Regions from separate parts of the Homo sapiens genome. Here region 2 is linked to region 1. The links are contacts of gene promoters, found by promoter capture Hi-C in human tissues and cell types (Jung and others, 2019). All regions are on one chromosome and are shown on one strand. The core of a region is centred on a gene start or on the middle of the fragment in contact, and the rest is flanking DNA. Distances in the headings are between cores, read along the strand shown.

Region 1 (2,769 bases), core at 98-2,597:
TGTATGTATGTTCTTCATGGAGGCCATTCCCAAATGCTCGTCTGAGGACGTGCTACACCAGAATCACTCTGGTCTTAGATAAAAATATAGATTCCAGGGCCCCACTCCAAATCTTCTGGATCGGAATCTAGGAGTGGGGGACCAAGACTCTATGTTTTTAAGATGCTCCCCAGAATATTCTAATGTTCAGCCACAGTCAAAAACTGATGGTTGGAATATATGGTCTAATGGGCTTGGAAGGGAAGGAAAGGGAAGAACGGGTGTCTATTCCCGGATTTTTCACAGCAAAACTTGAAGATTTCCAAAAGTCTAATTCAGCAAAAATGATATTTCAAAGCAGACAACAAAAAAATGTGATGAATACACTTGTTCAGTCAAGGGCATCTAACATGCCAATTGGCCCTCTTCCCACATATTCCCAACACATTAAAAATACAGGTAAATCGGCCAGACACGGTGGCTCACACCTGTAATCCCAGCACTTTGGGAGGCTGAGGCAGGCGGATCTCCTGAGATCGGGAGTTCAAGACCAGCCTGACCAACATGGATAAACCCTGTCTCCACTAAAAATACAAAATTAGCCAGGTGTGGTGGCACATGCCTGTAATCCCAGCTACTCAGGAGGCTGAGGCAGGAGAATCACTTGAACCCAGGAGGCGGAGGTTGCAGTGAGCCGAGATCACACCATTGCACTCCAGCCTGGGCAACAAAGAGCAAAACTCTGTCTCAAAATAAAAAATAAAAAAAAAAAATACAGGTAAAACAAGAAACGTCTTAAAATTCACACCTACCTTCTGAGATGAGCAATCCATGTCACCCATGGTGTCCACTCTAATTGTAGCTATTTTTTTAAAATGAATAAAGAGCTTTCAGCTTCTCCAGGGATGTGCCTCTCCTATCCAGTTGGTCTGAAATTCACACTTCCTTATAGCATAATGGGGATGACACCAACAATGGAACTTTCCAGATGTTCTGAAAGCTCTGTTCATGAGGTTGCCTCTCTGAGGTCATAGACTTTGGCCCGCTGAGGAGTTCCCTGGTAAAAAAGGAGAGAAAGGGAAGCTAGAGATAAGGGGACAGCACTGGGTTTCTGCTGCGCTTTTGGCTCTGGTTCCTAGTCCCCCAGCGGTGGCCACGCTTCCTTTCCCTTGAGTGCTTCTCTCTTGGAAATTTTCCAGAAACACACTGAGTTCACTGCAGAGGAAAGACTGAAGCAGAGTTACACATTAATACAGAGAAGAGGGAGACTCACCCCTCCAAACAACATCCTGGCAGCCCGAACTGTTCTCCCTCCTCCTCCCTGGACTCTTAACACTGGCAGTGCTTGTATGCAGGCGCTGGGCACAGTAACCATGTCTCAGCGTCTGTTGCTAAGGGAAGGAGGGGCCTCTGCGGTGCCTACATACAAGACTGGGCATGACCTAGCTCTGTGAGCTGGTGTCTCCCTTTGCTGGAGGCCCAGGTGGGCAGCAGGAAGTGTTGGTGACAGAAGGGAACATGGGAAGGTGTTTAGCAATGTTCCAGGAATAACAGAGGCAACAGCAATAAAAGACCTTTGGAGACGTCGAAAAGCACAGAGTATGGTGGTTAAGTTCTTGGGATCTACAATTGGACAGGTCATACTTCAGATCCTACTCTTCTCATTAATTAGCTGTGTGGCTTGGCAAGTTGTTTAATCTCTCCAAGTGTCCTTTCCGTCTGTAAAATGGCAATAATGTGAGTCCCTACTTCATAGGGTTGCTTTGAAGGGTTAACGGGATAACGTGTACAGAGCGATTTGCATATAGTAGAAGGATAACTGATATTTTCCCAGTTTTTCCCCGTTTTTTTTTTTTTTTTTGAGACAGAGTCTTGCTCTGTTGCCCAGGCTGCAGTGCAGTGGCGTGATCTCAGCTCACTGCAAGCTCTGCCTCCCGGGTTCACACCATTCTCCTGCCTCAGCCTCCCACCAGTGCGCCCAGCTAATTTTTTGTATTTTTAGTAGAGACGGGGTTTCACCGTGTTAGCCAGGATGGTCTCAATCTCCTGACCTCGTGATCCGCCCACCTCGGCCTCCCAAAGTGTGGGATTACAGGTGTGAGCCACTGCGCCCAGCCCAGTTTTTCCCCATTTTAACACTAAGTCCTGCATCCTGGGAGCAATCTCAGTCCTGGGCAAACTGGGATAGTTTGATCACCCAACACAGTCAATGCTCTATAAATGTTGTGGCTAACATCAATATTACGATAAACACAGAAATACATGTGCACATACTCAAAAGTAACAATATTAGCTGCCGCCCGAATATTAAAAGCACATGTTCCATGGTCACTGTGAAGTTCTCTCAAAACCAAGTTAGACTTAATGAGTTTTTTGGGGGTGCCATGCTTGCATATCTTTTTTTTTCATTCAATTTCCCCCCAAACACCACGATATTCCCATTTTAAGGATAAGGAATCAAAACTGAGAGATATGGGCCAGGTATGGTGGTTCATGCCTGTAATCCCAGCACTCTGAAAGGCTGAGGTGGATGGATCACTTGAGGTCAGGAGTTTGAGACCAGCTTGGCCAACATAGTGAAACCCCATCTCTACTAAAAATACAAAATTAGCCGGGCATGGTGGTAGTCGCCTGTAATCCCAGCTACTTGGGGGGCTGAGGCAGGAGAATCGCTTGAACCTGGGAGGGAGGTTGCAGTGAGCACAGATCATGCCACTGCACCCCAGCCTGGGCAACAAGAGCGAAACTCCATCTCAAAAAAAAAGAAAAACAAACAAAAAAACTGAGAGA
Region 2 (2,769 bases), core at 157-2,656, 55 kb after region 1:
TGAACATACTTTCGTTTTGAGCAGAGTTTTGCTGAAATGCAATTTCATGCCATTTGTTGCTTCTAGATCAATTCCATTGTCATGCAGCTGGCTCACATCAATGTTCTGGTTTTCAAAGCTCACAGACTTAAGCTTCCCAGGAAACTCTGGTATGGTGAGAGTCATGTGTGTGGCATTGCAGGTCACAGGATCTAGAAGGAATGACAACAGAATGCCCATTACCAGCCTTGATTAAGCTTCTAGGACAATGTCTCCCACACTGAGGTTGCAGCTATCTGGGACCTTACCTGGTGCACAAATAGCTTGTGAAGAGAAGATCACCTTCTGTCCAGGAGATATAAATGTAAGCTTCAGAGACACCATGTAGAGATGACTGTTACCTTGCTAGGGGGAGAAATAACAGTGATCTTCAAAAACATTGGTTACTTGAATCTCTAACCAGTAAGAATCATCTTGGCAAGTATATATCCAAGTAATGGGCACTACTTTGACACAAGTAGGATTTAAGCATTTGTCTAATGACTAATTTGTCTAATCTGGAGGTATATTAGTTTTAACCTTGTTCTAACATCTGGAAGAATGTTGTCTAGATCACCTGTAGCCAATGACTTCTAGGCAGATAAGATCTGTCCTTACCCCATATGACTATTTTAAAGTATCAGCAGCCAGACAATGTTTTCAAGCCTCAATCCATTTGTGTTCTTACTGGGAGATAGGACTGTTCTTGAAGTGGTTGGCATTTGAGCACTTACATCTCAGGACCTGTCCTAAGTACTTTAGGAGATTAATTCATTTAGTGCAGTGTTCAGACTATTGGCCTGGAAAGCACCAATACTTGCTATAAAACAATATAGGACAATGACAACCCAAACAGAACCCCTTAACCCATAAAGCTTTCAGGAATATGCTTGTTCTGTGTTGTACTATAGATTTAAGACTATGGGAAAGAGACTAGATTGAGGTAAGGATTATGTATTTTTGAGAAATGGTCTCGCTCTGTCGCCCAGGCTGGAGTGCAGTGGTACAATCTCGGCTCACTGCAACTTCTACCTCCTGGGTTCAAGCGATTCTCCCACCTCAGCCTCCTGAGTAGTTGGGATTATAGGCATGTACCATCTCACCCAGTTAAGTTTTTGTGTTTTTAGTAGAGACAGGGTTTCACTAAACAGACAGGGTTGGCCGGGCTGGTCTTGAACTCCTGACCTCAAGCGATCTGCCCGCTTCAGCCTTCCAAAGTGCTGGGATTACAGGTGTGAATACCCAGCGAAGTGTTTGGCACTTAATAGGCATTAAAATGGGTTGTATTATAAATTAATGTGAAGACATGGTTGAGATCATGCTTCAATTTAGGAATACTGGCCTGTGCTTTGGTGGTACAAAGCCAGACTTCCACACCTACCACATAGTGAGTCACTCCAGTGGCATTGAATGGCACATGGAAGGTCATCCTGTGGTTGTCAATCAAGAGGCTGAAGCCTTCCTTCATGGCCTCTGGCAGGGTCAGAGTTTTGGCTCTTGCACCATCACCAACCTCAATGCTCCATCCCATCTGAACTTTGGTCCCCTGAAGTCAAAAAGCTTTGTTTAGAGGGCTGGTGCTCCCTTAACCAAGTCTCTGGTAGTCTAACAATTTATCAGGTTAAAGGTAATATCACCTTTAACATAGAATTAAAGGTTATTAAGGTCTGATTTTTAAAATTTGCTTCATACCTTACTGTCGTCAGCCAAGCCAGAGAAGACCCGTGGCAAGGAAAACTGGAAGAAAAGAATTGTGATGTAAGACTTTGATTTGGAGGTAGATGTTTCCGAATTCATGCCAGAAATTGCTGTGTGGTTGTCATACCAAAAGGCCTGCTGTGGGATGCAGTGGAAGAAGCACATGAACCCTGACTGTGCCCTTAGATGTCATTATACTTCTTTGAACTTCTGATCCCAAGAGGCAGCTGGAAGATCTAAGCTCCTTTCCAGTTGTAAGTTGGGACACATTTCTCCCCCCAAGATAGAGTTTCGCTCATCGCCCAGGCTGGAGTGCAATGGTGCAATCTCGGCTCCCTGCAACCTCCGTCTCCTGGGTTCAAGCGATTCTCCTGCCCCAGCCTCCCAAGTAGCTGGGATTACAGGAATGTACTACCATACCCGGCTAGTTTTTTGTATTTAGTAGAGATGGGTTTTCACCATGTTGGTCAGGCTGGTCTCAAACTCCTGACCTCAGGTGATCCACCTACCTCAGCCTCCCAAATTGCTGGGATTACAGGCATGAGCCACCATGCCTGACCAGGACAATGTTCTTAAACGTTTGCCCTTTCACCAATGTCCATAGAAATCAGGTACTATGTAAAAGCCATGCAGTTCTATCATTGTTATTGAGTTGCTTTTATGTCAGTGTTATTTTTAGTTGTCCATTGTTGACATTAGCCATGTTAGACTCTAAACCCATGAAGATGTGACTGGGTCGTTTTGTTCACTTATTGTATCTTAGCATCTAGGGTAGGGCCTGGAACATGGCATGTATTCCATTTGTCAGATGATTAGTGTGAGTGCAACTACCAATAAAACCCTATTGCCATGCATGATGTGCCAAGTACCATGTATATACCCTCAGTAAATTCTTAGAGCCACCCTGAGGTAAGCATTATTGTCCCATCACTTTGGACTTGGAAACAAAGCCTCAGGGTAAAGTTAAACCTCATCACACAGAAAATTAGCAAGTACAGGATTAAATCATGGTCTGATTTCTAAGCCCCGCCCTGGTTAGATCATCATCATATT

Evidence for each region. The method cuts DNA at HindIII sites, captures the fragments that hold promoters and counts their contacts. A contact is called where the count stands out against the background at its distance.
Region 2: a fragment that was not itself captured here is called in contact with the fragment with the promoter of DNAH3 in region 1 in 1 of the 25 tissues and cell types used here (aorta).

The regions. Positions count from the first base shown.
Region 1 is chr16:21,149,499-21,152,267 of GRCh38, forward strand. It overlaps DNAH3 (dynein axonemal heavy chain 3), which reads right to left and starts at 1,348. Exons shown (of 62, transcript NM_001347886.2): 1 at 1,253-1,348; 2 at 792-1,036. The coding sequence starts at 821. The HindIII fragment of the contact is 16,051 bases long and covers 1-2,769 here.
Region 2 is chr16:21,204,021-21,206,789 of GRCh38, forward strand. It overlaps ZP2 (zona pellucida glycoprotein 2), which reads right to left. Exons shown (of 19, transcript NM_001376232.1): 6 at 1,711-1,755; 7 at 1,400-1,564; 8 at 288-384; 9 at 10-191. Among named protein-coding and RNA genes, the nearest start is that of ZP2, 6.2 kb to the right of the region's middle. The HindIII fragment of the contact is 3,204 bases long and covers 1-2,769 here.